2 separate regions of the Homo sapiens genome follow, and region 1 is linked to region 2. Evidence: promoter capture Hi-C in human tissues and cell types (Jung and others, 2019). All regions are on one chromosome and are shown on one strand. Each heading gives the region's core, a stretch centred on a gene start or on the middle of the fragment in contact. The rest is flanking DNA. Distances are from core to core; before and after follow the strand shown.

The links. The method cuts DNA at HindIII sites, captures the fragments that hold promoters and counts their contacts. A contact is called where the count stands out against the background at its distance.
Region 1: a fragment that was not itself captured here is called in contact with the fragment with the promoter of GPR52 in region 2 in 2 of the 25 tissues and cell types used here (H1 embryonic stem cells and adrenal gland).

Annotation. Positions count from the first base shown.
Region 1 is chr1:174,707,763-174,713,553 of GRCh38, reverse strand. The region is part of intron 17 of RABGAP1L (RAB GTPase activating protein 1 like); the gene reads right to left. Among named protein-coding and RNA genes, the nearest start is that of RABGAP1L-AS1, 240 kb to the left of the region's middle. RefSeq lists an enhancer at 1,049-1,158. The HindIII fragment of the contact is 4,063 bases long and covers 833-4,895 here.
Region 2 is chr1:174,444,258-174,450,143 of GRCh38, reverse strand. GPR52 (G protein-coupled receptor 52) reads right to left here and starts at 2,180. Exons shown (of 1, transcript NM_005684.5): 1 at 599-2,180. The coding sequence starts at 2,032. The coding sequence ends at 947. The region is part of intron 13 of RABGAP1L (RAB GTPase activating protein 1 like); the gene reads right to left. The HindIII fragment of the contact is 5,530 bases long and covers 1-4,459 here.

The DNA.
Region 1 (5,791 bases), core at 1,615-4,114, 260 kb before region 2:
AAAGGTGCCACAGTCTTCTAAACAACCATATCTCCCATGAACTCAGAATAAGAACTCACTCATTGCCAAGGGGATGGTGCTAAACCATTCATGAAAGATCTGCCCCCATCATCCAATACCTCCCACAAGGCCTCACCTCCAGCAATGGAGATTACACTTCAACATGAGATCTGGAAGGGACAAATATCAAAACCATATCAGACTGCAATAATATTTTTCAAATATTCTCAATTATAAATTGTCCAGAGATACATACATATGTAGTAAAAAAAACAGACATGCATGGGAATGATTAACACTAAATTCTTCATAATGGTTCTCCTGAGGAAGACCAAAGAAGATGTAGTCAGGAAGAGGTATATATAAAGCTTCTAATCTCATTGACATTGTTTTACTTCTAGAAGTGAGATACATAGCACTTCAATGTATGTCTTAATGATATAGTATGGGGGCAAGGAAGTGCTGGGAGCAGAAGGGTGGGGCTCCTGGTGAGGGCTCCACCTCTGGGCCTGTGCCATTGGACCTAAATCAGGAGAGGCATTTCTGTTTTCGTCCCCAAATATTGCATTTCCCAAGACCACCCTGGTCCGCCATGCCCCCATCTTGTGTCTATAAAATCCCCAAGACCCTGGGGGCACAGACACAAGCGGCTGGACGTTGGGAGGAACACACACCAGCAGAAGAGCACACCAGCAAGCACTGGCAGACACCAGCAGGCCACTGACTGATGGAATGACGCAAAGTTTGGCTGGGGAGGTTGGAGGAGTAAGTAAGTAAGTCAATAAATAAACACCAACCACGGGGTGCTAAGAGAGAAAGGAAAAGGATATATCCATTTAAGAACGGGTGATCAGGGAAAACTTCTTAGAGAAAGTAGCTACTGCTGGGCAGCCTGACTGCAGGGGAAAACCACTGTGTCCGGAATTGGTGGGTTCTTGGTCTCGCTGACTTCAAGAATGAAGCCGCAGACTCTCACAGTGAGTGTTACAGTTCTTAAAGATGGTGTGTCCACAGTTTGCTCCTTCAGATGTTCAGATGTGTCTGGAGTTTCTTCCTTATGGTGGGTTCGTGGTCTCGCTGGCTTCAGAAGTGAAGCTGCAGACCTTCGCGGTGAGTGTTACAGTTCTTAAAGGTGGCGCGTCTGGAGTTGTTCGTCCCTCCCAGTGGGTTCGTGGTCTCACTAGCTTCAGGAGTGAAGCTGCAGACCTTCGCAGTGAGTCTTACAGCTCATAAAGGCAGTGCGGACCCAAAGACTGAGCAGCAACAAAATTTACTGCAAAGAGCAAAAGAACAAAGCTTCCACAGTCCGGAAGGTGACTGCTCGGGCAGCCTGCTTTTATTCTCTTATCTGGCCCCACCCACATCCTGCTGATTGGTCTGTTTTACAGAGAGCTGATTGGTCCGTTTTACAGACAGCTGATTGGTCCATTTTACAGAGAGCCGATTGGTCCGTTTTGACAGGGTGCTGACTGGCGTGTTTACAAACCTTGAGCTAGACACAAAGTGCTGACTGGTGCATATACAATCCTTTAGCTAGACACAAAAGTTCTCCAAGTCCCCACTAGATTATCTAGACACAGAGCACTGATTGGTGTGTTTACAAACCTTGAGCTAGACACAGTGCTGACTGGTGCATTTACAATCCTCTAGCTAAACATAAAAGTTCTCCAAGTTCCCACCCGACTCAGAAGCTCAGCTGGCTTCGCCTAGTGGATCCTGTGCCAGGGCCATGGGTGGAGGTACCCACCAGTCCCATGCCATGTGCCCACACTCCTCAGCCCTTGGGCGGTTGGTGTGACCAGGCCCCCGGAGTAGGGGGCAGTGCCAGTCAGGGAGGCTCGGGCGTGCGGGAGCCCGTGGAGGGCAGGAGTGCCAGGGGGCACTCGGGCACGGCAGGCTGCAGGTCCCGAACCCTGCCCTATGGGGAGGCAGCTAAGGCCTGGCGAGAATTCGAGCGTGGTGCGGGTGGGCCAGCAGTGCTGGGGGACTGGTGCACCCTCCACAGCTGCTGGCCCGGGTGCGAAGCACCTCACTGCCCAGGGCCAGCAGCGCAGGCCAGCCGCTCCGAGTGCGGGGTCCGCCAAGCCCGCGCCCACCTGGAACTCGTTCTGGCCCGCAAGCACTGTGCGCAGCCTCGGTTCCCACCCACGCCTCTCCCTCTGAGAGGTGACAGCGTGCCGGCAGCCCTCACTCACTCTCAGTGCCTCCTCTGCCTGGGCTCCCACTTTGGCGGCACTTGAGGAGCCCTTCAGCCCACCGCTGCACTGTGGGAGCCCCTTCCTGGGCTGGCCAAGGCTGGAGCTGGCTCCCTCAGCTTGCAGGGAGGTGTGGAGGGAGAGGCGCAGGTGGGAACCGGGGCTGTACATGGCACTTGCGGGCCAGCGTGAGTTCCGGGTGGGCGTGGGCTCGGCAGGCCCCGCACTCACAGCGGCCAGCTGGCCCTGCCGGCCCCAGACAGTGAGGGGCTTAGCACTGCTAAGCTGTGTTTGGGCCAGCAGCTGCTGTGCTCGACTTCTCGCCGGGCTTTAGCTGCCTCCCTGTGGGGCAGGGCTTGGGACCTGCAGCCCGCCATGCCTGAGCCTCCCCGCCACCGTGGGCTCCTGCGCAGCCTGAGCCTCCCCGATGAGCACCGCCCCCTGCTCCACAGCACACCAATGGGTCTTGACTCTTTATCCAATTTGCCAGTCTGTCTTTTAATTGGGGTATTTAGCCTATTTACATTTAAGGTTAATTTTGTTATGTGTGAATTTGATACTGTCATATGATGCTAGCTGGTTATTTTGTCCATTAGTTGATGCAGTATCTTCATAGTGTTGATGGTCTTTACAATTTGTTTTGTTTTTGCAGTGGCTGGTACTGGTCTTTCCATATTTAGTGCTTCCTTCAAGAGCTCTTGTAAGGCAGGCCTGGTGGTGACAAAATCCCTCAGCATTTGCTTGTCTGTAAAGGATTTTATTTCTCCTTCACTTATGAAGCTTAGTTTGGCTGGATATGAAATTCTGGTTGAAAATTATTTTCTTTAAGAATGTTAAAAATTGGCCCCCACTCTCTTCTAGCTTGCAGGGTTTCTGCAGAGAGATCCACTGTTAGTCTGATGGGCTTCCCTTTGTGAGTAACCCGACCTTTCTCTCTGGCTTCCCTTAACATTTTTTCCTTCATTTCAACATTGGTGAATCTGATGATTATCTGTCTTGTGGTTGTTCTTTGTGGGGTTCCACAAAGGAATAGTATCTCTGTGGTGTTCTCTGTATTTCCTGAATTTGAATATTGGCCTGTCTTGCTAGGTTGGAGAAGTTCTCCTGGATAATATCCTGAAGTGTGTTTTCCAACTTGGTTCCATTCTCCCCATCACTTTCAGGTACACCAGTCAAACGTAGGTTTGGTCTTTTCCCAGTCCCATATTTCTTGGAGGCTTTGTTTCTTCCTTTTCATTCTTTGTTCTCTAATCTTGTCTTCCTGTTTTATTTCATTAAGTTGATCTTCAATCGCTGATATCCTTTCTTCCACTTGATCAATTTGGCTATTGATACTTGTGTATGCTTCACGAAGTTCTCGTGCTGTGTTTTTCAGCTCCATCAGGTCATTTATGTTCTTCTCTAAACTAGTTATTCTAGTTAGCAGTTTCTGTAACCTTTTATCAAGGTTTTTGGCTCCCTTGCACTGTGTCTTTAGCTCAGAGGAGTTTGTTATTACCAATCTTCTGAAGCCTACTTATGTCAATTCGACAAACTCATTCTCCATCCAGTTCTATTCTCTTGCTGGCAAGGAGCTGTGATCCTTTGGAGAAGAGGCATTCTGGTTTTTGGAATTTTCAGCCTTTTTGCGCTGGCTTTTCCTCATCTTCATGGATTTATCTATCTTTGGTCTTTGATGTTGGTGACCTTCAGATGGGATTTTTGCATGGGTGTCCTTTTTGTTGATGTTGATACTATTGCTTTCTGTTTGCTAGTTTTCCTTCTAATAGTCAGGGCCCTTTTTGCAGGTCTGCTGGAGTTTGCTGGAGGTCCACTGCAGAACCTGTTTGCCTGGGTATATCACCAGCAGAGGCTTCAAAACAGCAAAGATCGCTGTCTGTTCCTTCCTCTGGAAGCTTCATCAGAGAGGGGCACCTGCCAGATGCCAGCCAGAGCTCTTCTGTATGAGTTATCTGTCAACCCCTCTTCAGAGGTGTCTCCCAGTCAGGTGGCATAGGTATCAGGGATCCACTTGAGGAGGCTGTCTGTCCCTTAGCAGAGCTCGAGCACTGTACTGGGAGATCCACTGTTCTCTTCAGAGCTGGCAGGCTGGAATGTTTAAGTCTGCTGAAGCTGCGCCCACAGCCACCCCTTCCCCCAGGTGCTCTGTCCCAGGGAGATGGGAGTTTTATCTATAAGCCTCTGACTGGGGCTGCTGCCTTTCTTTCAGAGATGCCCTGCCCAGAGAGCATGAATCTAGAGAGGTGCTATGGCTACAGCAGCTTTGCTGCACTGCGGTGGGTTCCACAACTAGTTCGAATTTCCTGGAGGCTTTGTTTACACTGTGAGGGGAAAACTGCGTACTCAAGCCTCAGTAATGGCAGCACCTCTCCCCACACCAAGCTCAAGCATCCCAGCTTGACTTCAGAATGCTGTGCTGGCAGTGAGAATTTCAAGCCAGTGAATCTTAGCTTGTTGGATGCCATGGGGGTAGGTTCTGCTGAGACAGACCACTCAACTCCCTGGCTTCAGCCCCCTTTCCAGGGGAGTGAACAGTTCTGTCTCACTGGCATTCCAGGCACCACTGGGGTAAAAACAAAACAAAACAAAACAAAACAAACAAACAAAAACTCCTGCAGCTAGCTTGGTGTCTGCCCAAACGACTGCCCAGTTTTATGCTTGAAACTCAGGGCCCTGGTGGTGCAGGCACCCGAGGGAATCTCCTGGTCTGTAGGTTGCGAAGACCATGGGAAAAGTGTAGTATCTGGGCTGGATAGCACTGTCCCTCATGGCAGAGTACTTTACAGCTTCCCTCAGCTAGGGGAGGGAGTTCCTTGACCCCTTGTGCTTCCCAGGTGAGGTGATGCCCCACCCTGCTTCTGTTAATCCTTCATGGGCTGCACCCACTGTCTAACCAGTCCCAGTGAGATGAACCGGGTACCTCAGTTGAAAATGCAGAAATCACCCACCCTCTGCATTGGTCTCATTGGGAGCTGCAGACCAGAGCTCTTCCTATTTGGCCATCTTGCCAGCTCCCCTATGTCAGAGTCTTAATCTTGCTTGTATTAAGCTCATTCTGATGAGTTTTTTGTGGGGGAGAATGGGGATAAGGAGGGAGAATATTGTGTAATAAATAATGAATCTACTCTTCAGATAACAACTTCTGAAAACTGCTTTGAGAGAATTATACCTGGTGATATTTAATCAAATAATGTAGTACTGTCATTTTTTCAACATCCTGAGAAGAGAAGAGAAGCAGAAGATACATTCTAATTTGAAGGGTCAACGATTTCCTTAAATTTCATGAAAATACCAAGTTACTATATAAAGCTGAACATATTTGGTACTCTAAAAATTGAACTATCTGGGAAGAGTCAACTTCAAACACCGGCTGTCAGTTATTCTGTGAAGACTAAAAGAAATACCAGTATTTTCCTTATGTCTTCTGAAAGAATGTGGAGGAGAAGCAAAAAACACTTTTAGAGCAGTATTTGAATCACTACTGAAAAAGGAAATAGAATTAAGCTTCCATTAAGGTCACTCACTTAAAATTTTGCTTTTACCAAAGAAGCATCTCAACCACTGGGTGATGGAGGGGAAGGTGATTAGAAACCTAG
Region 2 (5,886 bases), core at 931-3,430:
TTAAAGAAAAACAAAGCTTTACTATAGCAAAAAAAAGACATCACTTTTAAGCACATGAACTAATTTAAAAGGAACCAGATAAAAATGTTTCCAAAAGCCATTAAAAATATTTAATAAGCTACCAGATTGCTTTGCTGGAAGAAATACATTATTTAACATCATGGATGCTCTATACAGTAGATTCTTTCAATAGCTAAGACACTTCTAAAGTAAGGTACCAATGGATGCAGATCAAGAAAAAGAGAGAAAAAAAACAGGAGACTGTTAGGAAACCAGGGAAAAGCAAATGTCATTTTACCCAGAAGAAACAAAAATACTGTTTCTATTTGTTTATAGCAGAAAAACTGTGCTGCAGAGAACATTATAAAAACACAAGCAAAGGGGTTGTTTGGCAAATAATAAAATGCAATGCTTACTGTGCATCCTCCATGAAGAGATCACTTATGGATTATAGATTAGTGTGATTAAAGGTACACTTTGATGCAAAAGATTATACTTTACCACATATATAATATGTAGCACTTTTCTACAAAGGGCAGTTTATGTAAGTAATAACTTCCACAAAGAGTGAGAGAAACATAGACAAAATGAGAAAGACAGAGGCAGGGTACAGTCAGACAGAAAGACAGAAATGCTGAGCCAAGGGGCTTGCTCATGTCCTGCAGAAGATTTGAGATATTCTTTTTCATCTCAGTGCTTAATTTTTCCTATTACTGCACACTAATACTCACATGCTATAATTATTTCATGAGCTAACCCTCTATACATCCTTCCCTTTAGTTTCTTCCATGAAAAAGAAAAAAAAAGAGAGAAACCTTTAGTCTCATACTTCATTTTACAGTCAACTATTCAAGTAAATATTTCTCTGATGGCAAATTTCCAGATGAATCTAGAATATGATCCAAAACCACTGTCAGATTACATTTGATTTACTATGTAGCTCTCTTCAAATGGAGCAAGAATTAGCCCGTTTCCTAGGTTTGGGTTCTTGTGCTTCCTGATCCTTCACACACATACAGGATGTGCACATTGTCTCAGACAGTCTTCGGAGGCCTAGCCGGAAAACGCTGTTGGAGAGGCTGTATATTACACAGTTACAAAAACTATTACTTATTGCAAGCCAGGTTGTTAAGAAGGACAGAGTTGGATTGTCCAAGACCCGGGAGCTTTCTAGAAGAAAGTAAATTATATAGGGGAGCCACAGCATATAAAATACACTGGTTATCCTAAACAAAACCATGGCGTAGCGACGGTCAGGGCTGTGTCCAGTCTCTCTGGAAGAATCTACCTCATGACTAGGGAATCGGGCTCTTCGGTCATTTATCTCTTTGGTGTGCTGACGGCAAATTTTGAAAATGTGGAAGTAAGTGAAGCAGACAACAAAGGCAGCAGGAGCATAAAGTAAACAAACAATAAAGCCAGTAAAATAGGCACTGGTGAGCCAAGACGTGGCACACCATTCAAAAATGTCACCATGGTAACCAGGTTTCCCCCAGCCAAAAAAGGAAGGCAAGAAAATTAGGCAGGAGTAGATCCAGATCAAAATAATGCAAATTCTCAAGCGACAAGGGGTGACCAGTTGATTGTAGGAAAGAGGCTTGGTTATTGCAAGATAACGATCCACACTGATGCAAGCAAGACATGCCATAGAAACACTTTTTAGAACTGAGATGATATATCCAAAAACCTGGCAAGTCAATGACTCGTGGACACCTGTGGAGTAGTGGAGAAGTGACAGAGTAGGAACCAAGCAGCTAACTCCAACGAAAAGATCAGCATATGCCATCGTCTGAATGAAATAGCTGGTAGTATAATGATGTAACAGTGGAGCACAATGAAAGACAAAGATAACTGTTAGATTCCCAGCAATGATCAGAAATGTCAGCAACACAATAACCACTGTCTCGAAGATGCAGACATCCACCACACTGTAGTGGCCAAATCCAAGTGGGCAGGAGTGACGCTCGGACACATTCACAATGCCACTGCTCATGTTCAGGATCCTCCATTCAGTCCACCTGGATTCATTCATGGCTTGGAAATTTAAAGACACCTGCAGACTTGGCTACAGCAAGCAGATGCCCTGCCCAGCATCTGTTAAACACCGCACATGAGTGTTTCAGAACCTGCTTCAGTAGACAGTGTCAGTGCTTCTGTCACAGCTGAGAGTCCCAGAGAGTGCTCAAGTCTCTTCACCAGCCTCAGTTCAGCAGTGACACACCTCAGCTTTCGGGCGGGGGGGTGGGGGGGGGGCGGTAAGGGGTGGAGAGAAGGGGATAAGCTAGAAAGGAGGTGAAAAGAGGTCACTAATTAGTTTCCTCTGGTGCCCTCAAAGAACTTTTTGCAGACATAAGGCACTTCTAGAGAAAATAGACTTCTTATTATCTTGCACTATGAAAAATTAAATCTGTAAAAAGAAAAAAAATGAATTGCCAAAGGAAGAAAAGCTTCTGTGGGCTGTTCTCCTAAGAGAGGCAGTTTCTTAGGGAGCAACTGGAAAGAATGAGAAAAGAAAAACTCTGAAACTGTCTCAGGCTTCCTGCTTTATCTATGATGAAAAATGCATTCATATTTTAGATTTTAAATAATTTAAGATCTCAAATTTGGTTGAAAAGCTAAGAAAAAGTTCATTGTGGCAAAGAGTGTCTTTGGGCTTAGTTCAGGGATTGATGTTGGGGGGTCAAATTTATAACCTATTTCTCATTTTTCTAAAATCTAAGAAAAACAACTCTATCAAAGTTAATTTGAAAAGATTCATCTCTACATGGGCAGAATAGAGGTAACAAACAGACTCCAGATTGCCCTATAACTCTCATGAGAAAAAAGTATTTTCCAATAGAAAAGAGAATATACAATGAATTAATGAATTAACACCTGGCAAAATGTAATAAACTTCTGAAGTTTTAATTCTGCATGCATTTTTAAAGCATTTAGATGAAAGCAGTTTTAATCCATTACAGTTACTGGTGGTACTAACAGCAACGTAACTTATACCTCTTCCTTTTCAAAATGAATTATTTTTGCTATTAATTTGGCATCTATAACTTAAAATAACATTTGTTATTTCATATACCACCTTCCTTATAATGGAGCATGATAATAAAATATGTAGCTCACAGTTATTTCTCACCTTTGCAACTGTATACCCATATCTCACATATATATGTAAATATAAAGTTAGACAATAAAACTTTCCAATATACTCCGAGCTTATTTGACCAGAAATGCTGCCATTATTTATTACTTAGGTATTTCTAATAGGCTTCATGTTCTATGTTGCTATACCTTTTCTATTTTCAGTAGATGATTTAACACATTAAATCATTACTTCAACTATATCTTCTGAAAGTGGAAAATTACCTTGTTTATTACATTTGCAGTTATGTAGCAGCCATATGTTAAAAAATGCCTCTTCTATTTTTCTGTACTCTATTTTGAGCAAGTGCTCAATTAACACAGGGGCCATTAGGTAGGTTGCAAGATAGTCTTATTTTAAAATACCTCTAAAGTATCAAGATGAACTTTAAATCCTAGAGTTTGAAACATTGCAAGGCTGCCAGGATAGAATCCATCCAAAATGCTTCCAAGGTCATTTTGATATCAGGTTAACATTTGCCAAAGTATTTTTTAAAAGTGAAGTCATTTCAGAGAGTCTCCTGTCATTCTTTGTTATCCTATCTTTTGAAGAAATAACATGCATTAGAAATAACATTTCCTCCAGGAACAATGCAGCAGCTTAACAGAAAGCATTCTTCTGAAAGTTATTTTCTGGTGCACCACCAAGTCATTCAGGCAAGTCCTTCTTCTTTTATAATAGCCATAGGATATTTCTTCTTCTACATTCCTAGTTTCACTTATCACAAAACAGTTCTCTTGTTACAGGAATAAGGTAATGCTTCTCACCTACATTCACTCTTATCAGCTGCTAGGCTGGGCTGCTTGATTCAGAAGTCCGATTTACTGTGATGCAGCTACAAGGATGCTGTCAGTATATTCTTCACAATCTCTCAGCATCAATGACTCCACCTGAGCCCAAGCCCTACTCCTCCTCCTCATCCTGGGCTGATGCAGAAAAACTCACCATCAGAAAGGTGACTCGGCCCTCCTGCCCCAATCAACAGCACAGCCAATGGCTACTGCAGCTGAAACTGTCACTAGGTAACAGTTGCCAGGCACATGCAGGCTTATAGACTTACTCGGCAAGCTCCGATCAAGACTGACAAAAGAAGACAATGGAACTGACCGATCTTTATAATATATTAAGGCATTTATGAACTTCTCAAGGTATTCTCCTTATAGCATTTGTAAAGATTATTTCGTATGGACAAGACAGAAAAAATAAACTGCCATACTCCTGTAAACCCTGTAAAGAAACTACCACAAGGTACTATGACACTAAAAAGTCAGCAGTAATCTAATGCTCATTGGCAGAAAAAACTTATTAATTATTAAAAATTTGCCAAGTCTTCATGAACTAAAGTGATATGACTACTAACTTCTCTCTAAAATATATAGTTACATTTTAATTAACAGAACTTAGAAATCATTTACTAATCTCTCCAATCCCCATCACCCCCACAAAAAATTGCTGAGTTTGATGTATTTAACTGTACAAACAAAGCAATAGAACTAACACTACTGTACCAAAATCTATTCAGAGCAATACTGAAGGTCAAATATGATCTCAAAAGAGCATAGAAATTAGAATAAATAAAAACATTGCTTATCCACTTTTTATCCTAATATGAAAAAAAAGGTCAAATGGTCAAAGAAATTTGTTCTAAGTGCTTGAGCTACACATACCTAAATTAGAACAATGCAAATTAATTTAATCAAATATTTGATGGACATTAAAACATTTCTGATTATTTTGACTTACTACAGACAAACATTCACTATTTTAAACTTCTTAGGGGATCAGCATTTTTCTTAAAAGTGACTTAGAACTAATTTACAAATTATGTCAGAATTAAAATACACCAGGAAAATTAAGATAAAAATGGAAGATAACTAACATTTGTTGAGTATTTTCTATATGCCAAGCATTGTGCTGTGTGCATTATATACTTTTCCTTTATAAAAATCTTAAAACTCTATGAAGTAGGTATCATCATTATCATTTTCCAAATGAAGAAAGCAGATAGTAGAGATAGTAAGTATAACTTGCCTATAATCACAGACTTGTGAAAATGGGACCGAAATAGGTTATTATTATTCTTAAAAGTCCTAAAAAACATAAAAAGATCAACAAAACAAAAACTTGATTTTTTGAAAAGATAAACAAAATCAACAAACCCTTAGCTAGACTAAGCAAAAAAGAAAGAAGACTCAAATAAATAAAATCAAAGATGAAAAGACATTACAATTGACTCCACAGAAATACAAAGGATCATTGGAGACTTGTGAAAAATATATATGCCAACAAACTGGAAAACCTAGAAAAAATGGCTAAATTCCTGGACACATACAATCTACCAAGATTGAACCATGAAGAAATAGAAAATCTGAACAGACTAATAATGAGTAAAGAGATTGAAGCAATAATAAAAAGTCTCCCATCAAAGACATGCCCAGAACTTGATGGCTTCACTGCTGAATTCTACCAAACACTTAAAGAAGAACTAATACCAACTCCACTCAAACTATTCTTAAAAAGTTAAGAGGAGAGAATACTTCCAAACTCATTCTGTGAGGCCAGCACTATCTTGATACCAAAAGCAGACATGGACACATACAACAAAAAAAATTATAGGAGGCCAATATCCCTGAGAAACATAGATGCAAAAATCCTTAACAAAATACTAGCAAACCAAACAACACATTAAAAAGATATGCCATGTTCATGGATTGGAAGAATTAATATTGTTAAAAGGACAATATCACCCA